7 separate regions of the Homo sapiens genome follow, and all the other regions are linked to region 1. Evidence: promoter capture Hi-C in 16 types of primary human blood cells and fetal thymus (Javierre and others, 2016). All regions are on one chromosome and are shown on one strand. The core of a region is centred on a gene start or on the middle of the fragment in contact, and the rest is flanking DNA. Distances in the headings are between cores, read along the strand shown. Region 1 holds the start of RMDN1 (regulator of microtubule dynamics 1). Region 2 overlaps OTUD6B (OTU deubiquitinase 6B). Region 3 holds the start of TMEM64 (transmembrane protein 64). Region 4 overlaps TMEM64 (transmembrane protein 64). Region 5 has its middle 3.9 kb from the start of DECR1. Region 6 overlaps OSGIN2 (oxidative stress induced growth inhibitor family member 2). Region 7 overlaps RIPK2 (receptor interacting serine/threonine kinase 2).

Region 1 (3,276 bases), core at 436-2,935:
CTGTGGCATGAACCACAGCAGCCTGAGAGATAACCTGGTAAGTTTCAAAACCCAAATACGACAAAGCTGAGAGTAAAAGGCCTCTTTTGAAAGTTCCTGGGTTTCCCATTACCTATGGAAACAATTATGTTAAGAGTTACAAACTTTGAAAATTTGAAGGTACTGCTACCCCAAGCAAAAATTACATGAATTTTCTCCCACCCCCAAAGCAATCGATCATAATACTGGAAGCTTAAAAATTACTTCATCAAAATCTTTAGTAAAACTATCTCAAAGCGTATCTTATTGAGAAAAAGATATCCCCTGGAGTCGCCGCTCATCTAAAAATCACACTCCTGCTGGAAAGGAAGAGCTACAACTTATTTGCTACAACTTATTTGCAAATGCATGGATATTGCAAATTGTATGAAGTAAAATATGAGACACCAACACATAATAAAAATGAATCTTACAGACAAGATTATCATATATAGTAATTACTACATATAAAAATGTACATGGCTAACTTTTAAATTTTTTTGTAGAGACAGGGTCTCACTGTGTTGCCCAGGCTGGTTTCAAACCCCTGGACTCAAGCAATCCTTCCGCCTCGGCTTCCCAAAGTGCTGGGATTACAGGCTGAGCCAAGGGGCCAGGCCTAAAATGGGACTTCAAACTCATCATTGTTCCAATTTGAAAACTTACGGCTAACTAGTTTCATACTTAGAACTCCTCCCATCTCTCTGCCTATATTATCTATAACCTCCCCATTTGGTTATAAACTTCCAAGGAAGGGGAATATGCCAAATTTTAACCACCCCTCCCCACCATCAGTCCCATAATAATTCTGAAAGATTTTAACTGAGCAGTTAAAAATTTGAGTTTAAAATAATGAAACCCCTAGTTCATGTGAAATATATCATATGCATTAATGCCATTCCAATTCCCTGACAAGAATAAACAGAGGCCCACGAGCAGTCTAATAGAAATACCAGAACTGAGACTACAACATGCCGACAACCTTCATTGACGTTATGCAGATACAACGGGCAACTGAGAAATAAACATTTTTAAACAAAAACCTAAACAGTATGAAATCTCTGCTTCTGAGTCGTAGAACTTTTTAAATCACACACCACACTTTTCAAAGTCTGAAAGGGGCAGCCTCAAGCGCTGTTGTATCTGTCATCGCCTACAGGGAGAATAATTTCACAGCGGTCAAGGTTCTTTCCCGTCCTGTTTTACATTTCGCACAAGAAGGGCGGGTAGCAGGCAGCTTCTGGGGCGCGTGGGGGCAAACCCCACTCCTTCTCTGACAGCCCCAGTTAAGGATAGTGGAGGTTTGCAAAATGGAAGGGACCTGTCCGGGCGTTCCAGGCACAGTGGCCCCGAGTTCTTTCCTCGGTTCACCACATTCCTTAGGCAGCGCGGGGCCGCCACCACTTAAGTTAAGGGGGAGCCGGAACCCACTGAGTAGGAAGTGAGGAGCGGGAGCCAGGACCACGGGGGTACCTCGAAGCCGCGGAATCGACAGGGGCCGCAATGCCCGCGGCTGCCCGAAGTCCCCGCAGGGAGACGAGACCCCGGGGCGGCTCCACGTCGGAAAGGCAGAAGGCGCCACAGTCGAGCAGCCAGCGCCATGACCTGCAACTTGCGGGCTGACCCTGCACTACTTCAGGCAGCTACGGAGGCGGGCGGGGCTAAAGGAGATTCAATCCTTCCGGAAAGAACCGCGCCCGCCCGCCTCCTGCACAGCACCTCTTCCGCCTCCTGCCCAGCACCTCTTCCGCCCCCATGGTTTCCGGTGCACGGGCTTAGGGGGTGGGAAATACCCCGATTGGGTGGGACTTAATGGACTTTCCGCGCCTGCGTCCAGGACTGAGGCCGTGAGAGCGCTCTCTTCAGGCGCTCTGACTTGTTTCTGCTCCATCTCTCTAGGGGGTCTTTCATGGTTTGGGCACAAGGATTCGTCGCCAGAATAGAACTGAAAGCTCGGAAATAGACCCGAGAATACAAGTATGCCAGAAAAAAAATTGTCATTTTAATTATCTGCTGCCTTCAAAAGTAGATTGAATCTTGGTACTAGTGGGTCTTTTTTGGAAGTAAATAATTGGAAGAATTATGTTGCCCAACATGAAGAAGGGAAAGTCTCAGTCTCTTCGACTGAGCGACTCAAGGGGGTAGATTCAAGAGAGAGTCCAGAGCAAAGAAACAAAAAATGCAAAGCGTTTTGGGAAGAGGAACTAGCGGGAGGAGGCCTCTGGAAAGGATACTGATGCCCTTGAATGCTAGGGCATGTGTAGTAAAAAACAGAAACAAAAACAAACCCTGGTCTCCCCTAAAATTCTTCAATAAGATGTTTTACTTACTCGAGCAAAGTATTTTATTTTACTCGAGTAAAATAAAATTTCTTGCTCGAGTGGAATTCTTTTGTGGGAAAATGAAGAAATTTTGGATCCTACTTGAGGCCTGATCAGGGTGGGTGGAAACACAGACTGCAAAGGGAGTACCTACTATATGGGTTTAACGAAAAATCTTATGGGTAATAAGGGAGGCGAGTCATGGTTTTAAAAAATTAGGTTGCATTTCTATGGTACTTTTAATACTGTATAGGGAATTAATACATAGTCGTATTGATCTTCCGAACTACCTTGTGAAGTAAGTGGTATCCCAGGTTTACAAATGAAAAAACTGTAACTCAAAGAGATGTATTAACCTAACCAAGGATATGTTAGAAGACAGGAATCCATGTCTTTCTACTCTGAGTCCAGTGCTCCTTCTACTATATGATTGCTACCTCCACTAGTCCCATTAAATCAGCTGTATTTCTTTAGGATTATGTCTTTAAAGTCTATCTTTAAAAATATATAGATCTCCTTCCCAACTTCTGAAACCTAGCTGTTTTTTCCCAAAGACAGAATCACTTTTATTTTATGCATTTCTACTGGCAGCTACCCCCTCAACATTGCTAAATGTTTATGCCACTGGATACCATGATAACAGTGAAATTAAGTTTCTGATATCTCTGCTAGAGTGAATTTGTAATTAAGTTTTTAGCTTTGAAAAAAAAATTAGATCCTAAGAAAAGTTGCAGGAACTCCCATATATTCTTCAGCTAGATTCAGCCATTGTTACCTTTTTCTCACATTTGCTTTATCTTTCTTTACATATCTTACCTATAATACACATATTATATTCCTAGTATTTTCTGTTGTAAGGCCTTTTGAGAGTAGATTACAGATATCATGACTCTTCAGTCTTAGAAACAAGACATTCCCTTACTTAGTCCCAGTTTAA
Region 2 (3,276 bases), core at 305-2,804, 4.6 Mb after region 1:
CAGATGGTGATGAAGCAGCCTGGGTATTAAATAGGATAAGAAAGAAAGTTCTGGGTTCAGGTCCTGGCATTTTCTTCCACCCCTCTGTTTTGTGGCCACAGGGGAGTCAGCCATCCTCCCAAGCTTGAGTTTCTTGATTACTATATGGCCATAATAAACCCTCTCTGTGTATTCAGTTGAGCATTTTTGAGCATTAAGTAAGGCAGAGAGTACCTGCATAAAAGTTTGTAAGCTGAAGTGCCAGATGGATGAACCTAGGCAGTACGATTAGTAATATATAATGATGATTAATCATCATGAATAGTCTGTGGCTCTAAATAATTCACTTTAAGAACTGCTTCATTTGAAGATGCAACATGAATGTTGCCCCAAAATCTTTTTCTTAGTACTGCTGTGTATGTGCATTTCCACCAGAGGGAACTGTATCCATTAGTTTTGTATGCCTCGGAAACTCAGGAAATGTTCATAGTAGCTTTGTTACTACTACATTAGGAATAATTAAAAATGCTTGAACTTTCTTAAAAGGATCATTCATATGAGTATTAGAGATTAAATCAAGAAATTAAGAAAAACCTTTTAAAACATCTTTTGAGGGACACTTATACATTTTTTTCATCTGTGAATTCATTTGAAGTAAGAGTTGCAGTTTTCACAATAGAGTAAATTTAAGTTATTAAAGAAAATCATTCTATGATCTCTGAAGTTAGAAGGCATAGTAGGATTCCCAGAGTTTGGTTCGCATCCTCTATTCTATGCTAGTTTCTTAAAAATGATATTTTAGGTATAAGAAAAATGTACCTCAAAGGAACGTTTTTGATTTACCACCATGCAGCAGAGTGCTTTCCATATTTTTGAAGTAATTTCTTAAATTCTTTCAAAACCTCAGGAAGGAGTATGTTCATCAATGGAATGTTCTTGTAATGGGGCAAGTACATATCCCATAGTGCCCCCATAGATCGGGGCATTATGATTTTTACTTTCTTTTTGAGACAGAGTCTCACTCTGTCACCCAGGCTGGAGTGCAGTGGTGCCACCCATCATTGTTCACTACAGTCTCAATCTTCTAGGCTTAAGCTTTCCTCCCACTCCTGAGTAGCTGCACCACCATGCCTGGCTAATTTTTGTATTTTTTGTAGAAACGGGGTCTCCCTGTGTTGCCCAGGCTGGTCTCGAACGCCTGAGTTCAAGTGACTTTGACAAGTCTTGTAACCCTTTTTTTGCCTCAGATTCTAGGTCTTTAAAATAACGACAGTACCCATCCCATAAAGTTATTGAGAGGATTAAAGGAATTAATACACATAAAGTACTTAAAATGCTTGAGTGTTTGGTCATATGTCTTTTTTTTTTTTTTTTTTTTTTTTGAAACAGGGTCTCACTCTGTCACCCCAGTTGGAGTACAGTGGCGTGATCTTGGCTCACTGCAACCTCTGCCTCCCGGGCTCAAGTGATCCATCATGCCTGGTTAATTTTTGTATTTTTTTGTAGAGACATGGTTTTACCATGTTGCCCAGTCTGGTCTCGAATGCCTGGACTCAAGGTATCTGCCTACCTTGGCCTCCCAAAGTGCTGGAATTATGGGTGTGAGCCACTGTGCCTGGCCCGTAATCATAATAAGTCTTTAAAAATGTTAGCATTAATGTTCAATATTCACCATTATTCATCTGGCTTTAGGCTCTAATTTTATATTGTATGGTATGAAATTACTTAAAATTGTATATTTTAATCAAATAGAAATTCATTGATAGGGCAGTACAATTCATATACATATTCTACTCTTTGAAAATTATAGAACAGTGGTTGTCAACAGTATTTGTAGATTAGAATCATCTGAAAAACTTTAAAAAAATAAATATTTTGTTCTTCCCCCTGCCCATTTTCTCACATTGTAATTTATTTGGTCCGGTGCTTGAGCAATGGTATTTAAAAATTTTTTTTGTTATGAACATTTTCAAGCGTATTCAAAAGTAGACTAGTATAATATACCTAGTCTACCCATTGCCCCTCTTCATTAACTGTGGCATTGATATTTTTTACAAAGCTTTTGTGCAGGCAGGGCTTGAGCAGTCTCTGCATTTGATTTAATAAATACAAGTTGAGCATCCCTAATCTGAAAATTTGAAATTCGAAATGCTCCCAAATCAAATTTTTTGAGGGCTGACATCACAAGTGGAAAATTCTACACTTGACTTTATGTGACAGGTCACAGTTCAAACTTAGTTTCATGCACAAAGTTATTTAAAATGTATAAAATTACCTTCATGGTGTGTGTGTAAGATATGTATGAAACATGAATGAATTTTGTGTTTAGATTTGAGTCCCATCCTCAAGATATCTCATGTAGTATATGCAAATACTCCCAAATCTGAAAAATTCAAAAACTAAAACAATTCTGGTTCCAGGCATTTAGGATAAGGGATATTCAACCTGTATTATATTTATTTATTCAACAGATATTTATTAAGTGCCCAGTATATACCAGGCTCTCTGTGTACAGTGGTGAACACAGCGTATCCCTGCTCTGACTGGTTGCCCGTTCACACATATTTGAATGTGATTTACATTTTTATTTTCCTTACTGATACTTTTTTTCTTCCTATAGCTAAGAGCTCTGTCTCACATTTTACAAACACCAATAGAGATAATACAGGCAGATTCTCCTCCCATTATAGTTGGTGAAGAATATTCAAAAAAACCACTAATACTTGTGTAAGTACCTAGACATTTTTACTGTTTTATTTTTCACAATTAATACAAAAAGGAATATTAAAAAATTTAGATTATATGTGTTAAAATATGTGACTTAGATAATTTTTTAAACCTCTAGCGATTTATTTTTGTGTGTGAGTTTAGAATAAAGTCATTTCTAAAGGTTATAACATTTTAGGACTAGTTTGTATACTGTCCTGGTTTGACATTAGTAATGCTAAAAGTTTCAACAAGTGTTAAAAGTTGAAATACATTCATGTTGCCTGTTTATTCCTTAGATTTATTTTTCTTCATTTTATGAAAATATCTTACATGATTTAGAAATCTCTTCTGAAATACAGCATGCAGGGTTTGCTATTGGCTTTAGTATTTTTTAGCTAAACCTATTAAGATAGTCATCAATGGCTAGATGACAATTTAAGCTGATTGAACCTTCAGCATCTCAGCCTTTTCGTTTTACCCCAGTGATTGAACCAGATCTTGCTGACTGCTGCCACTTTTCAAATGGTGTTGAACTCTTAATTAATATGTCCACATAGTCTATTGAGTGAAACCCATGTGGACTGAGTC
Region 3 (3,276 bases), core at 534-3,033, 4.1 Mb after region 1:
AACAGTAGGATTTTCTTCTTTACATCACATTAAAGCACAATTACTTGAAGAAGAAAAAGCCCATTTCAAATTTAGCAAACTCCAAAATCTGGAGTCTGCAACTAGCTCCTCCACTGTTTACTGAAACACTTCCTTTGGTCCATGTCGCTAAAAACTTGAATCAAAACCCTGGATGTATTTATGTAAGCAAGAGAGAAAGCTTTCCTCCCTAAATGTTGCCAAAGCTGCTACAAAAGATGACAAGTATTAAAGATGGGCATTTCCATTCATGTCCCTGCATGCCTATTGTTAAGAGGGCTTTTCATTTTTAATTACATTCCCATCCCTAAAAGAAACATTAGTTTTTTATCTAACAAACTCTCTTTCGAGGCTCCGCGTTAGGTATGTTTTATGTGTAGGACAGACTTCCCAGGCTGCGATGGAAAGTAATCGTAACTCCTGCCGTCAATGTCACTTCTCTGCTGGTATTTATCTGATAGAGCGCCCTCCTAGGGCCGCCACAAGACCGCTCAAAAACAGACTTGGAGAGGGATAGGCCAGCGGGACCCCACTTACCGAAAACACTGCATTCTGAAGCCCAAAAGGTATGGGTGTCAGTCTGGCCAGCGCCACCACTTTCAGGCCGCTTCCTCCCTCCACTACGCGAATAACCGCGCTCAGCTTCTCGCTGCTCTGGATCCTGGCGGCCACCCAGGCGGTGAGGAGCCGCTTGCAGACCACATGGGCGATGAAGGTGCCGATGAGGACGCCCACCATCATCAGACCCATGCCCAGCACGAAGCCGTACAGGTAGCCAGCGGCCACGTTGAGCACGATGTAGCCCCAGCCGCAGGGGAAAGAGACCACGATGAAGCCCACGACGAAGAGCAGGACCCCCAGCAGCGAGTCAAGGCTCTCCACCCACAGCAGGAGGTGGTGAAGGTAGCGGCGGACCAGGGCCAGGGAAGCGAAGCACAGGGCGGCCAACACGCAGACCAGCACGAGGCTCCGGCACCAACAGGTGCTGCCGAGGCAGCAGCAGCGCCAGTTTCTCACCTCAGCCACGCCGACCACCACGCCGCCGCCGCCACTCCCGGGGCCGCCCGCCAAGGCCCCGCCCGGCTCCGGCAGCTCCGAAGCCTCGGGCGGACCGTGGCGCTCCAGATAGGCGCCGAGCAGGGCGCCCGAGGCCGCCGCTGCTGCCGCCGCCGCGCTCGCCCCGCCCCCGCGGGGAAGGCGGTCCGCCGGGCCGTCCCCGCCCGCACCCCGCGGCAGGGCCCAGCGGGCCGGCAGCTCGGCGAGGCCCGGGAGGGCGGCGTGCTGCAGCAGCCGGGGCAGCGCCTGGAGCAGGATCCCGCCCGGGCTCCGCATGCCTCGGCCCAGCGCGGGCCCTCAGCCGGCCAGCCCCTCCGCCGCGGCGCCCGTTAGGCAGCTGCCCTTCATGGCGCCCGGTTCGCCCGGCATCGACTCCCTGCGTCCGCTCAGAGGGTGGGAGACGGCCCGTAGAAGGGCGCGGAGTCAGCGGAGGAGCGACGGCCAGGCGGGGAGTGAGGAAACTCCTGCCCCAGCACCCACGGAGCCCACTCCGGTGGTGCCCGCCCCTTGTCGGCCAGAGGGGGCGGGGCCGCGGGCGATGGGGCGGAGCGGGCTGTGTTCTGGTCCGCTCCCGTGACGCGCTGCCCGCCAGGCTGCGGGGGTCGCGGGGCGTCCGCGTGGGCCAGCGGAGGCCCACAGCTGCGGAGGGAAACCACTGGGAGGGGAGAAGGAGCTCTAGGGAGAGCGAGGCTGCAACGAGGGGAGAGCCGGGCGACGGGCAGGGGCCCAGGCGCGCTCCCCGACTTCCCACAGGCGCGCGCATGCCTGCGTGTCAGGGCGCGCGCTCCCCCTCTCGGACCGAGGCGACCCCAGTCCGTGAGCGGCTTGGATCCTCGCCCGTTCCCTCCTGGTCGTTTCCGCAGTAACCTCTTATCAGAGCGGGCAGCTGTGAGTGGCGCTCACATCCGCCGCTGCCCTGTCGAATGGGGGAAAGAGTTCTTGTGTTCTGAGGAGGGTTTGGCTATGGTCCTTGACCCTATTCTTGTCTCAGACTTGCCTCCCAGGTATCGAGGTCTCCCTGTGGGTTTCATATGGCTTGGTCCTTTAGGAGCTGGAAAAATTAGGCATAAAGTCCCCCCACCCCCTTGACAGAACGCCCCTTCTGACTCCAGAGGTCCTTTATCGAGTGCCAGGCATTGGTCTAGGGGCATTTGAAAAAGATTCACTGAAGGACATTTTTAAGAGTTCGCTTTCTCAGAGGGCAGCTTCTCAAACTCATTCGCTGGTTTCTTTTCCTCTTTCCGCCTGTTTAAGGTTAGTGTTCCCCAGGTCCTCTTGCCGTCTTCCTTTTCAGAGTTTCCTGAGCCATCTCATCCAGGCCCAACAGCTTTGATCCTGCCGTGCCCCCCATAAGAAGTGACCCCTAAGTGAATGTCTCTGCCCACACTTCCCAGCTTGTGGTCCGGCCTGTGGACACATCCAGGTGGAATTCTGCAGGCAGCTCAAACTCAGCAGAGCTTGGTAGATAGATGATCAACTTGGGCTCTGGTGCAAATCACGTTTAGTAACTGGTCAAACAATCAGTCCCTGAATCTCATTGTTTCTTTTTAAATTGCAAAATGGAGATAATGGTACAACTTAGCTTCGTAAGAGTGTTGTGAGGATTAAACAAAATAGTAAAGTAAGGTGATTAGCACTATGCCTGAAATCAGTCGTCAGTAAATGTTAACTATGTGATGGTATCCCTCATTAAAAGTGTGATCCCCCATAGACCGACTCTTCCTTCTGGGTTTCATATCTCAGTGGATGACCTTCCACCCAGTTGCCTGCCAGATAACGGACCAGGACACCTTAGGTCGTTGCTGATCAGGCTCCTGCTTGCTGGCTGATCAGGCTCCTCCATGCCATTCCCTCCTATCCACCCTGGTTGGGCTGAGTCAGGTAGAGTCCCTACTAGGTGCCAGGCAAGTGCTACATCCTTCAACTCTCTTTTCCAAGCCTTGTGACTCACACGGAGGAGCAGCTCTTACTGCTGCCACAGCATTTACCTAAAGTTTTACTTCCGTAAAACAGTACCAAGGAGGGATAGTGCTAAACCATTCATGAGAACTCCATTTCCATGATCCAATCACCTCCCACCAGGCCTCTCCTCCAACAATGGGGATTACATACAGTTTGACATGAGATTTGGGCAGGGACACAAATCCAAACCATATCAGTCCTGCACTACCTTCCCTTCACCATCACCCTCAATTTGGTATT
Region 4 (3,276 bases), core at 275-2,774, 4.1 Mb after region 1:
AATATAAAAAGGAAAAGAGTTTATTTTAACAAAATGTTTTAGTAAGATTGCAATGGGACAGCCCTTTGATGAAAAATCTAAGGAGGGTAAAGCCAATGTAACTGAATTAGAACAAGAGTTCCAATTTTGAGCTACCATCCACCAAATAATTTCCCTTTTGCTTTGCATATTACACAGTGAAAATAAACAGTTATATTAAGAGCACTTCAGTCCCACAAGGTAGGATTTAAGCTTTGTGAATAGGTGTAAATGGCCCTGTAACAATATGATGCCTGCAAAAATACATTCAACTGAAAATTAATGTCTGTTCTTTAACTAGTAAGGAAACGGGAAGCTAAGTGGTCCCACTTAAACAATAAAACAAAACAAAACAAAAACCACTGTTTATCCTTTCTGGAAAGACTACCAAAGCAAAGAACATCCAATAATATTATAAATTTAAAACTGCATACTTTTACTCATCTTTACAAGTAGGAAAGATGCATACAAACTACTCATGGGCTTTATAAATAAAGACACTAAGCAGAAATAATATTTGGGTTATTTCTCTGTTCGTAAATACACAGAAATAAAACAATTAAAAAACACTAAAGTGCAGACCTATAGGCCAATACAGGCATGATAAAGAGGTGCAGCCAAATTTGCATCTACATTTACACTTACATACCCAGAAAATGATTCTTGCTTTAAAAAAAAAAAATTGTGCAATTTAAAAACTAGTCAGTTTTGTTTGTGCTGTAATACAATTAGAACTTGTCTCTGCCCACTAGTGAAGTGACTGCTAGACCTTAGATAGCACACTAGGCTCTTGACAATCACGTATCTCATTAGAATCATACAACATTGATTCCACCTCCAGAAAATGTTAGGGTCCTCTTGTTGTAGAATGAAGAGCCACTGGTATTTGGTTGATTGCCTTTAACCAGAGAAGATTTCAGTTCCATTTCACAAGCTACAATAGCTGCATTCAATTCCACTTGAGCTCGATGAACTACATAAAACATGAGGCCTATACTTATAATAATCTGTGAATAAAAATAAAACATTACAGTTATCAATATTTTATACAAAAAAAAGAAATAAATCCAATAAATATTTGGCTTAGAAATGCTTCAAACAGGGTGCTTCTCAAAGATGGTAGGTAAAGGGTTATACATTTTTAAATAGTTTACACACAGTTATTGTTTATTCTTTCCTTTGCTGCTTCTCCTGGTAGTGGAGGACCAAAGTCTACAGGTAACCATGACATGGTATTAGGAAAACACACATTCCTTTTGGTTCACTTGATACAAGCCAAACCTGTCTCTTTGTACCAAAAAGCTTTCTTCAAGGAATAAAAAATGTCTACAATAGAGGTAACAGCTGGCTAAACTTTGTTGGTATAATTAATGTAGTATTATACCTTTGCATGACTATAAATGTCCATAGGTATTTCTAAGCCCACTTAGTGAGAAGCACTACTATTTGCAATGAACTACCTGGTGAAGACAAAATTAAAAGTATTACAGACCACTTAAAAAAATGAAATGCCAATAAACTTCCAAAGAATTAACAAGAGATTGTGAACAAGTAATTGCCTGTACTTAGGAAAAAACAAAATCAGAGGAAAACATGATGATTATTTAAAAATGTTAGTCAAAGGGATACTAGAAAAATCATCACACTGATCAAATTGAAAGTCAGGTTTCTAGTCTTAGCTTAGCTATTCACTAGTGATGTGTGATTTAGGGAAGCTTCAGTTTCTCATTGTCCTATAGGAAGCTGTGGTCCCTCTGTACTTTTTTTTTCTTTCTTTTTTTTTTTTTTTTTTTGAGATGGAGTCTCGCTCTGTCGCCCAGGCTGCAGTGCAGTGGCACAATCTCGGCTCACTGCAACTTATGCCTCCCGGGTTCAAGTGATTCTCCTGCCTCAGCCTCCTGAGTAGCTGGGATTACATGCATGCGCCCCACGCCTGGCTAATTTTTGTATTTTTAGTAGAGACGGGATTTTACCATGTTGGCCAGGCTGGTCTCAAACTCCTGACCTCATGATCTGCCTGCCTCAGCCTCCCAAAGTGCTGGGATTACAGGCATGAGCCACAGTGCCCGGCCAACTTTAGCATTCTATGTACAGCTCCTCAGAATGTCTAAGCAGTGTACATTTTCTAAATGAGTTTTATTCCAAAGTTCATTTGTAAATCAGTTCTTTAGGATTTGGAGCAAACACAGCAGGTGTTATTTAATGTCCCAGCAAGTTTACAAAGGCTGCTGTAACCAAAAGTGATACGGAAATATAATACAATTTCAATGAAATCTACCCATAATTATAACATAAGCTTTAAAGGGAAAGTATTCTAAATCCAAGTGCTGAGGGTGGTTGGGGGAGGAGATAACAGAAGCAGAGCATACTGGGGGTATGGTAAGTGTGAGAGGGGAGGAACTTGGAACTTGCACAAGGGGGTGCCATTAAATGAGTACCCATCACTCAGTAAAATCGTAAATAAGTTAGGCATCTTAAAGCTGGGTCTTTAAATTCTGTAACTGTTTTCTGTTACTTCTCTTAAAAGAAACAAGATATATTTACCGAAAACTCCTAAGTTTGCTATGTATCAACAAATGGAAACACCATGTAAAGAGATGAAAAAAATATGGGGGCGGGGGCGGGTGCTTTGTGAATTAGATGCTACCTTCTGTTTAAGACATGCTGAATTCGAGGTGCCTCTTAGATATCCAAAAAAGTTCATGGATGTCAGTGAAGGGGTCTGAAGCTATGGAAAGAGGGCTGAGCTAAAGACAAGTGCTGGGGAGTAGGATGAGGGCAGGCGGAGGGTCTTGACCCAAATACACATATTAGCAACCATCAGAGTAACTGGATTTGCTGTAAAAAAGTTTTCAGAGTAGGACTAGAAAACTTAAGCTAGGATCTTCAAAAACACAGATATAAGGGGTGAAAGGAAGAAGTTAAGCATAAGCTAGGCAAGTGGAAAAAAAAAGTTAAGACAGTGGTATCAAAGAAACTAAGGAAAGAGTGTTTTAATAATGAAGGCACTGTCAGGAGTCTTAGACTACTAACAGGTCAAGCTAGATGAGAAATGGAAAGTACATCTCATTTAGACAAGCTTACTGACAGCCCTAAGAAGAGCAGTTTGAGGGAAGGAAGTGGCAGGGCCACAGATAGCAAGGGTGAAATGGTTACATCTTTAAGTGGGACTTTCCCAGCTGCACTTCTGATCCCAGGGCCTGACGATTTGTACTGTCCCCCAACACACCTTCCCCATCTTCCTTAGCTGAGTGAAGT
Region 5 (3,276 bases), core at 375-2,874, 3.5 Mb after region 1:
CCTCATTCAACAAAGTGTTTGATGGCTCACCATGCACCAAACATTGTGCTAGATATGAGGGATAGAAGGATGGTAAATTTAAAAAGGTAGGCACCCCGCCCCACAGCTGCTAATATATAAGAGAAAGACGCAATTGCAATTGTAACAAGAGCCCCCAAAAGGGAAATTCAGTGCCCTATGAAAACATACAGCTAAGGCAAGGGCTGATTTACCTGAAGCTAGTAAATTTCAGGGCCTCTTGCTTGCACAGCTCTTCCAAGGCCCCAGGGCCATTTCTTTTTTCCAGTAAAATTCACAAAAGTAAGTTATTTTAACAAAAGGAGTTAAAATAATTCTCTTTCCATTCCTATTTCTGTCAAAATTCCTCTCATGTTGGATGATGTTGGAGTGGTCACCAGCAGTTGGGGTGTCTGCTAAACTGAATTGGGGAATTAATTTATTTCTTAGATCAGTTCAGAAATACTTGTGTGGTTTGTTGTCACTTCACTATAGAGTTAATGCTCTATACTGTCCTTTGGTGGGGCTGTCTTCCAGCAGACTGGACTATACTTTCTGCCCACCTTGTGACATTTATGTGCAGGGCCAGAGGTGGTATTGAAATGTAGAAGTGTCCAGTGGTACTCAGCTCTGGAAGTAAATGGGAATTGGAGGAGAAGCAAAGTTTGAATTGTTTAAAGTGTATGAAGCCATAAGCTAGTATCAAATTATGTAAAAGTGTTAGCAGAGGATATGGTTTCATGGATGCATAGTCAAAACAGAAGTTTGTCCCCATCATGAATATTCACAATTTAGTGTTTACTATTATGAATGCACCATGCTTTTTAAAAATATGATAATAATTGCATACAATAGAAATTTTTAGAAATTCTGTCTTGGCCAGATACAAATCTGTGGTGGTCCTATGAGTGGCAAATCTAAGTGTGTGTGAGGTATGATTTAGCACTTGAACTCCTTATTCTCTCTATTAAAAATATGCTTATAAAATCTTCAATAAAGGAAGAGGTGATCAAAGAGAATGCAGCTCCGAAATGTAGACGGAAATTGCAATTAGAGATGTGTTAGACATTTAAGTAGTTTGAAACATTACTTTATATTTGTGTGAAATTTAGGATACTGTAAATTTTTTGGAATTTGTAATTTGTTCTAATTTCTTCTTATATTGTAAGTTAATATTCATTTTTGCATCTAATTTTGTAATCTTTTTCTTAAATGGCTTCCCAAAGTTTATAAGCTTCAGGTACCACCAAACTTGGATGCTTCCCTAGTAGGAAGACCTGAATTAGTGTAGAAGTCAAGGTAACTTTTCCTGAGAAAACAAAATCAAAGCTGACCCCTGATTATGGGGTCAGAGGCAGCCATACTAGGGTGATGATGTGAAAGTGGGGAGAGGAGGCATGTGTGTGAGGGGAGCAGCCATTGCTGGAGTGTAGGAGTCTGCCAGTCACTAAGGCTGAACCATCAGATAAGAAATCAGAAGAAATAGCACCAAAGGGAAAAATCTGTCCTCATGATCCAATCACCTCCCACCAGGCCCCAATTCCAACATTGGGGATTACAATTCGACATGAGATTTGGGTAGGGACACAAATCCAAATCATATCACCAATGTTGCAACTTCTTCTTAGAAACAAGATGAACCCCACTTTTAGGCCTTTTGATTTCAGGAAATATTAAAAATTAAAAATAATATAACCATTTTTTCTGTTCATATTCAAGACAAGCTAGTGGTATAAATATTCAACCATATATTCAAGGATGAAGGTAATATCATTTTATTTTATTTTATTTAAATTCCATTCCTAGCCCTATCCATTCCTCCATGATTGTGGGAATTGTGGGAAATTCAACCTTAGTCATCTTTAGTGCCCTGTCTCCTTTCTTCCCTCTCGGTATCATAAGAAGGACACCAAGTCCTATACAGGCCTTTAGGGGAGGCCTCTCTGATTTTCAGTTCCTAGTGGTTATATTTTTCCTAACTGGTTTATTCCTTTGAGGTTCCAACCCTCTGCTTCTGTACCAAGCTTGGAGAACGACAGTAAAACAGAACCCAGAGTCCAGGCTGCCTAAGTGTTTTATGTAGCTATTTCCCTCTGACTAGATTGTAGAGTGTGGGTAACGTAGTTTGGATGTGTGTCCCCACCCAAATCTCATATATTGAAATGTAATGCCTGGTGTTGGAGGTGGAGCCTGGTAGAATGTGATTAGATCATGGGGGCAGGTTTCTCATGAATGGTTTAGCACTATTCCACTTGGTACTATCTTCACCATAGTGAGGGAATTCTCCTGAGATCTAGTCATTTAAAAGTGTGCCCCTTTGCCTTCCATGAGTGGAAGCTTCCTGAGGCCTCCCCAGAAGCAGATGCCACCATGCTTCCTGTACCGCCTGCAGAACCATGAGCAAATTAAACCTCTTTTCTTATAAATTACTCAGTCTTAGATATTTCTTTATAGGAATGCAAGAATGGACTAATACAGGGGGTCTACCTAAAACTTTTGCAAACTTCTTTTTCATGTCTAATGTATGGTTGTGGTAGACAGAATTCTAAGATGGTCCCATGAGTCCCAGTCCCTGGAATTCATGCTCTGTATAATTCCCTTCCCTTAAGTATGGACAGGAACTGTGACTCACTTCTAGTTAACAGTATATGGCAAAGGTGAAAGAATTGTGCAGATGCAACTAAGATCCTGTGAAAGAAAAACAGAATATAGGGACTGTGAACTCACTATGCCATAAGGAAAGTTAAGCTTGGAAACTCAGTCACCAATACTGTCTTTTTTGTTGTCGTTGTTCCCAAACTGATAGCTGTAATTTCATAATCCCAAGACATAGCATCATTTCCTCTACTCCCTCTTTTCACATGTTTACTTTATCTTATGTAAAATGTAGATTTACTGAGGCTAATCAGAGCCTCAAAAGAATGGAACCATCTGCCTCACTGTCTACCCTCTCTTCCTTTTTTTTTTTTTCTCTCCTGCTTGCTCTTTCTTTTTTAAATAAAGAATTTCCCAAAACCCCCTTTGGAAAAAGCATAGGTTACAGATGCTCTTGTGAGTTGCATTTTTTTCCCAGACATGTTCTCAACCTTGGCTAAATGATCGCTAACCCACAGAGATCTGCCTCAGTCACTTTTTGGTTTGCAGTCCCAAGTCAGTTGATTTTAGTTAATCAAAAAGGGGTTAAGACTATTTTCAGTGGGCCTCACTTAATCTGGTGATTGTCCTTAAAAGATGGGCTGGGGCCTCCCTGAGGTACAGAATTGTCCTTGCTGGCTTGAT
Region 6 (3,276 bases), core at 543-3,042, 3.4 Mb after region 1:
GAGGGCCGATCATCCAATCCAGTTGCAGTACTTTTCGATACACTTCTTCATCCAGATGCTGACTTTGGGTATGATTATCCATCCGTTTTGCATTGGAAATTAGAGCAACATCATTATATCCCTCACGTAGTTCTTGGTAAAGGTCCACCTGGTGGGGCTTGGCATGTGAGTATATTTTTCTTAGCATTTTAGTGTATGTGAATTATTTGTCTTGATAAGACCAACTTTATTCTTAAGCATTATGATAATGTTATATGTGATGTTTATCACATTTTTATTTGAGAAGAACTTTAATGCTGTTCAGTTAGTTAAATATGGGTTTATTACAAGTAGCAGTAAATCAAGCCAAATTTTATTACTGGTACAGTCTTAGAATAAGCATGTCTCTATACTATCTTACAAGAATTATGTAGAAAACATTTCAAGAATGTTTTGTATAATAAAAATTTAAAACTCAATTCATTTTAGACTTTACATAATCTCACATAGTATTTCAAAGCAGTATCCATTATTTTCTTACATTTTCAGAATCTTAAATGAAAAATGTAAAAGAGGTTGTGTTAGTCTGCTTGTCTGCGATAACAAAATGCCATAGAATTGATGGCTTAAACAACATATTTATTTCTCACAGTTCTGGAGGCTGGAAGTCCCAAGATGAAGGTTCCAGCCAGTTCAGTTCCTGGTAAAGGCCCTCTTCCTAGCTTTCAGATAGCTGCCTTCTCAATGTGTCCTCACATAGCAGAGAGAGAGAAATATTCTCTTCTTATGAAGCCAGTAATCCCATTCTGAGGGACCTACCCTCATGACCTCATCTAGCTCTACTTACCTCCCAAAGGCCCCATCTCCAAAAGCATCACATTGGGGGTCAGGACCTCAACGTAAGAATTTTGAGGGTAGATACAATTCGGTTCATAGCAGAGGTTAAACCAGAGAACCAGTGAATTAAGGATTCACTCAGTGCATTTCATTAGGGGGCCAGTAAGTAATAATTGTTCATCCTTCCTGTGTTCTTAGCAGTTAACACTGTGTCTAGTGTGTAGTGAGTGTTCATTTGTTATACAAATTGATGTTAAGTAATTTAGTTTGCTGTGTTATGAATTACAGACTTCATGGGAACTTTAACATATTACATACCAAATTTTTAGTACAAACTTCGGTTGGCTGTTCGTGTATTAGTGCAGTTTTGCACATCTGAAAAGTTGTTTACGTTTATAAAATGACTGTTTCAGGGTATCGGGACATTCCTAGATTAAATACGTCATGGGTTTCTTTTAAAATCTTTATTCTCTTTTTAATAATGAGTAGCAACTACCAAATTATTTGTTGCTTTTAGCTTAAGTTTTATGATTTTTACTTTTTCATATCAACTTTAAGCTTTATTTACAATAAGCTGCATCCATTTAGAGTGTATAATTTGACAAATGCCTGTAACTGTGAAACCACCAATACAAGATAAGAAAGAATTCTATCATGCCCAAAACTTAAGTGTTTATATTTTCTCTGTTAATTAGTAGCATTCTTAATTTTAAAAAAAGCCATAATGTATTTGGAAGTGGGGAGGGCATTTAGACTGCCTTCTCTGAATTCCTGAGGTTTTATTTTACTTACATTTTTTCCGCTTAGAAGAATGATGAGTTGTGCAGGCGATAATTGATCTGTTTCATTTCTTTCACTTATGTATAAAAAAGTTAGAAAGTATGGATAAACCCTGATTACTAAAAACACATTTTGAGCCAGTGATAAAGGTTAAAATATACCTAAAAGTTGCTGATTTTTTTCAGGCATGTATTCACTAAAATAGGGCTGTAAGTAATATTTCAGCTGTGTACCAGTTGCCAGTCATCACCTCTGTGAAGGTTCCTAATGTTCCCAGACATAATTACTTGATCCTACCTGCATTCCATATCTTAATCTTACTGTGCTTGCCTGTGGTACTATTTATCTGTTTATGCGACCATCTCCCCTGCTATGGTTTATGTACATCCTAATTAACCTGAGTTGTGACTTAAGACGTAAACTCCTTGAGTCATCACCCCTCTCTCCTACTTAGCTTCATATAGTTCTCTGTTTCTCTTGTGATCTAGTTTCTCATCACTCTTCTCTCTTCCAAACTTTCTGTGGCCCCTTGAACCAATTTTGTGATAAACAACTTGTTTGCTTTCCCACATCTTTAACCATTCTGTCAGATGCTGCTTCTGCTCCCTTTCTTGAAAGCTTACTCTTTCCTAAAGATACCATTCCCACTGTAGCCCTCTGAAGTGGAGCCTATTCATTCTCCCATAGCCCTATGTCCCATCAGGTTGGCTAGTAAGGTTGGTCTTCTCTTCACACCCCTATGCACTTGTGTAAAAAGCCCTGTTCCATTGAACAGATGATGCCATTTTCTAGCTTTTCTACCATTCCAGACTGTCTCCAGACTGTCTCCATTTCTGGCTTTTTTACCATTCCAGACTGTCTCCAGTTACTGAATCTGTGGCACCTAATTCATGGGTCTTCCATTATATCCCAAGTTTTGTTACCACCTTGAATAATTTTACCTCTACAAACATGACACAGAACCAAGATCTTAACCTTTTTGTTCCTTGGTCTCCTCATTCTTGATGATGATGTATTCTTCATTAGCTACTCACTCCAGTGGCTCCACTGTAGATCTTATCTGTCATAACTACTCAACTTGTAAAAACCTAAATTCTCAAATGTCTTCCTTTCTGATCACAGTTTCCTGTTCTTCAAGCTTATCACCCAGTTAATTCACACTATAGATAATCTTTGAACACAGAGCGTGCTCCAGGCTGTGATCTTCATATCCTTACTTACCCAGCCCAGCTTCTGTAGTCCATGGAGTTAACTATTCTCTTTAATTCCCTTAACCCATTGTCCTTCTGTCACATAGGTTTGTCATACAGGCAATTCATCTAACTATCCACTTTATCTTTTCTTACACTTGAGCAGTCAGACCCCCAGAAAAAAAATTATACAACTGTGAAAATATTCTCCACTCTCAGTTGGGGCCAAAACACTACTATAACCTTTGATATTTCCTTATTAACTTCTTTTCAAACCTTTATCTCTTTTTTTTCTTTCATGCTTAGAAGTGGTCTTGGTTCTTATTTTACAGATAAAATGTAATCCATTAGGATTGAACTTCCACAATTTCACACTCAAACCGAAAACTTACACATTGATGCAAATTCTTTTTTTTTAATCCCCTGTTATAATGGAAGAGATATTACTACTAAGGCTCACCTTCCAGCCACATTCTGGATCCCTGTCTTC
Region 7 (3,276 bases), core at 295-2,794, 3.3 Mb after region 1:
CTGCTAAAGGGCTTGATTCTAGAATATATAAAAAACCCTGACAAGTCAATAATAGGACATATAGCCCTATTTTTAAATGAGTAAAAGATTTGAATTTCACCAAGGGAGATATACAAATAGCTAAAAAGCACATAAAATGATGCTTAATATTATTAGTCATTTGGAAATGCAAATTAAAACTGCAATGAGTTACCACTTCATACCCACAAAATAGCTATAATTAAAGACAGAAAATAACAAGTGTTGACAGTGATGTGGCAGAACCAAAATCCGTATACATTGTTGGTGGGAATATAAAATGATGCTGCCACTTTGGAAAACGGTTTGGCAGTTTCTTAAAAATGAAAGATAAATTTACCATACAACCAAGCAATCCACTAACAGGTAAACCAAGAGAAATGAAAACATATGTTCACACAGTTGTATGTGATTAGTGATAGCAGCATTGTTTATAATAGCCAGCAAGTAGAAACGGTCATAATTACTGCTGCTACTACTACAACAATACATGAATCTGTTGTTCCAGGAAGAGTCCAGGATCCTAATATAAAATTGAACATCACTAACATATTGATAGTCTGGACTGGTTCATCTAAGAAGGGAATATACATAGCAAAGAGAGGACCCATAGTAAAGCTCTGAGGCATTCCAGCACTTAGAAATTGAGAAGAGGAAGAAGAAAAAGGATTAAGGAAGAGAAGACAGTAGAGAGTGTAGTCCTTGTGTCTTGGAAGTCAAGGAGGGGTATAGTCGGACATGTTTAATCTGCCAGGAGGCCAAATGAGATAAGCAGGATTTTCCAACATTGTCATCACCGGTAATCCAAACAAATGGAGTTTTAATAGAGAGATGTAAACAGAAGACTGATGTACATTTAAAAAAAATAGAAAGAAGTGAAGGCAAATATGGAAAATTCCAGCAAGATGCTTGGCTCTGAACAGAAGCAGAAAAAAATGAGGTGATAGCTAAAGGATGATATGGGGTCAAAATTTTTTCCTATGGCCAGGCACAGTGGCCCATGCCTGTAATCCCAGCACTTTGGGAGACCAAGGCAGAGGGATTACTTGAGTTCTGGAGTTCCAGACCAGCCTAGGCAACACAGCAACACCTTGTCTCAACAAAAATAAAAATAAAAAAAAAATAAAAAATTAGCCAGACATGGTTCGTTGCCTGTAATCCCAGCTACTTGGGAGGCTGAGGCAGGAGGATTGCTTGAGCCCAAAATGTTGAGGCTGCAGTGAGCCTTGATTGTGCCACTGCACTTGCACTCCAGCCTAGCTGACAAAGCAAAATGCTGTTTCTTAAATAAAAAAAAAAAATCCTGGAGAAAGATAGATTACTTTATCTGGAAAAAATACTCTACTGGAAAAAATGATCCAGTAGAGAGTCAGAGATTGTCAGTGCAAGAACTGAGAGAGAGTATCAGAAACAGAATGCTGGAGAGGTGGAGGAAATGGTATTCAGAATGCAAGTGATACTGTTTACATTTGTATGAGTATATGGACACTTTTTTCTACTGTAAGAGAAATGAGGTTGGAGAGATGGATACAAGTACAAGAAGTTTGTAGATCTGGTTATAGAACCCTGAAGGAATTCCCTCTCATGGCTTCTATTTTCTCAGTGTAGTATGAGAGCAGATGATCAGCTAGCTCAAAGGAAACATGGAGGATGGGATGTAAGAGGCTGAAAAAGGGAAGATAAAGTACAATGCCTATTACCCCTGCCTTCCCTTTCTAAGTTCAGAATATATTAAGAAAAAGCCGAGGAAGAAAGATAGATGTTGATCAGAATATCAGTTTCATTACTGATAAAGCTAATTGGAGAATGTACCTTTAGATCTGCAGCCAAATGGGCTTAGTAGCATTTTACCCCTACAGTTGATAGCTTTACCAGCCCACCACAGGCCTCACCCTGCTTCTACATAGGGAAGCAGAAAATGTATGCATTCTTTAGGCAAGCTGACTTTTAAAAGAAGGAGAAAACTGCAAAGGTACCAAATAAGCATGCTTAGTTTTTCTCCAAGTTTAATAAATGAGGTAAGTCTGAGGGGCAGAAAGGAGCTGGAAGAATTCCTCCTATACTTCTCTTTCCTGAGGATTGAACTGGAAATGTCATCTTCCTGTTGGAAACATGAAGAAAAGGACTTAAGTGTCTCCTCCAACAGTACGAGATAATTATGTAAGACAGCAATTCTCAAACTTAGATCTCAAGACTCTTCAAAATTATTGAGGACTTCAAAGAGCTTTTGTATGTGTGGGTAATATCTATTAGCATTTACTGTATTAGAAATTAAAACCAAGGAATTTTAAAATGTAGGAATATACAAGAACACATTCCATTATCTGTTGAAGCAGTGATCTTATCACACCTTATTTATGGGCCTCTGGATAAATCCACTATATACTTGTTTGGGGATGACAGTGAACAGGGAAAATAATGTCTTAGTACTTGTTATTTTGAATATAGTTTTGACTTCATGAACCCTCAGGAACCACCCCCGCCAGGGGTCCCTGGACCACACTTTAAGAACCACTTATCTATGAGAACAGAATAGTAGATGTATTTAGGAAGCAAAATAGGATTGCTGAGAAGTGGTATTTAGTGTCTAGTTTGGGCCGTTAATTTAGAGAAACCAGCGACCCCACTTCTGGCCAAGATGGAGTAACTGGGGCCAATTTACCCTCCTGCCTGAAACAACCAAAAAACCTAGACAAAATATGTGAAACTGGTTTTTAAGACACTAAATATCAGGAAACAAAGAGCAGCAATCTCTGATGGATGGGAAACAAATGAAGTGAGCCTTCCGATTGCCCAGCTTCCTGCCTTGAGAGTTTCTAGATGCAGCATGGGGAGAGGAAACAGGTGGAACCCAGTGGACACTCAGGGTCAAGGAAACAGGGATGACAGTGTGGGTAGACCAAGGCAGACAGACTTCATAGGACATTGCACCAGAAGGGAAAAGGTACACAGAGTGAGAACCCCAGAGATTTCAGAGGGTTCCTCTCAAGTATTCAGTGGAGCACTGATCAGTACAGGGTGAAGTCAGTAAGCCAAAAGCCAAAATCTTGAGCATAGGAGAAAGGAGAAGTTTGCAGAGAAGTAAGTATTGCCTAATGGCATGAACTTTAGAGGATCTAGAATTTTCACAGAAAGAAGAAATTACGATTTGGAAATGGCAAAGAGAGGACAACAGAGATATATACCCTTCCTCATGGCTCTGGAAAGAAAGAAACAAAATGTGAACCCATTACCTTAGCAACTTTTGATTTGTAAATA

What was found. Contacts are between HindIII fragments. The CHiCAGO score rates a contact against its expected background, and 5 or more counts as called.
Region 2: a contact is called between a fragment that was not itself captured here and the fragment with the promoter of RMDN1 in region 1, in 1 of 17 cell types (total B cells). The highest score is 9.2, in total B cells.
Region 3: a contact is called between a fragment that was not itself captured here and the fragment with the promoter of RMDN1 in region 1, in 3 of 17 cell types (total B cells, naive CD8 T cells and activated CD4 T cells). The highest score is 6.1, in total B cells.
Region 4: a contact is called between a fragment that was not itself captured here and the fragment with the promoter of RMDN1 in region 1, in 1 of 17 cell types (naive B cells). The highest score is 7.3, in naive B cells.
Region 5: a contact is called between a fragment that was not itself captured here and the fragment with the promoter of RMDN1 in region 1, in 3 of 17 cell types (non-activated CD4 T cells, naive B cells and total B cells). The highest score is 7.6, in non-activated CD4 T cells.
Region 6: a contact is called between a fragment that was not itself captured here and the fragment with the promoter of RMDN1 in region 1, in 1 of 17 cell types (non-activated CD4 T cells). The highest score is 5.2, in non-activated CD4 T cells.
Region 7: a fragment that was not itself captured here is called in contact with the fragment with the promoter of RMDN1 in region 1 in 1 of 17 cell types (total B cells); the score reaches 8.0 in total B cells.

What each region holds. Positions count from the first base shown.
Region 1 is chr8:86,507,001-86,510,276 of GRCh38, forward strand. RMDN1 (regulator of microtubule dynamics 1) reads right to left here and starts at 1,686. Exons shown (of 10, transcript NM_016033.3): 1 at 1,492-1,686; 2 at 1-112. The coding sequence starts at 1,620. RefSeq lists an enhancer at 1,431-1,600. The HindIII fragment of the contact is 14,106 bases long and covers 230-3,276 here.
Region 2 is chr8:91,081,409-91,084,684 of GRCh38, forward strand. OTUD6B (OTU deubiquitinase 6B) reads left to right here. Exons shown (of 7, transcript NM_016023.5): 6 at 2,600-2,706. Among named protein-coding and RNA genes, the nearest start is that of OTUD6B, 13 kb to the left of the region's middle. The HindIII fragment of the contact is 964 bases long and covers 1,073-2,036 here.
Region 3 is chr8:90,644,556-90,647,831 of GRCh38, forward strand. It overlaps TMEM64 (transmembrane protein 64), which reads right to left and starts at 1,528. Exons shown (of 3, transcript NM_001008495.4): 1 at 556-1,528. The coding sequence starts at 1,350. It overlaps LOC124906712 (translation initiation factor IF-2), which reads left to right and starts at 1,886. Exons shown (of 2, transcript NR_185471.1): 1 at 1,886-2,078. RefSeq lists an enhancer at 555-884 and silencers at 995-1,394, 1,525-1,934. The HindIII fragment of the contact is 3,173 bases long and covers 198-3,276 here.
Region 4 is chr8:90,624,838-90,628,113 of GRCh38, forward strand. It overlaps TMEM64 (transmembrane protein 64), which reads right to left. Exons shown (of 3, transcript NM_001008495.4): 3 at 1-1,025. The coding sequence ends at 834. Among named protein-coding and RNA genes, the nearest start is that of TMEM64, 20 kb to the right of the region's middle. The HindIII fragment of the contact is 413 bases long and covers 1,319-1,731 here.
Region 5 is chr8:89,995,909-89,999,184 of GRCh38, forward strand. No RefSeq gene overlaps it. Among named protein-coding and RNA genes, the nearest start is that of DECR1, 3.9 kb to the right of the region's middle. The HindIII fragment of the contact is 790 bases long and covers 1,230-2,019 here.
Region 6 is chr8:89,914,582-89,917,857 of GRCh38, forward strand. OSGIN2 (oxidative stress induced growth inhibitor family member 2) reads left to right here. Exons shown (of 6, transcript NM_001126111.3): 4 at 1-165. Among named protein-coding and RNA genes, the nearest start is that of OSGIN2, 14 kb to the left of the region's middle. The HindIII fragment of the contact is 840 bases long and covers 1,373-2,212 here.
Region 7 is chr8:89,774,156-89,777,431 of GRCh38, forward strand. All of the region lies in intron 6 of RIPK2 (receptor interacting serine/threonine kinase 2), which reads left to right. Among named protein-coding and RNA genes, the nearest start is that of RIPK2, 18 kb to the left of the region's middle. The HindIII fragment of the contact is 4,773 bases long and covers 1-3,276 here.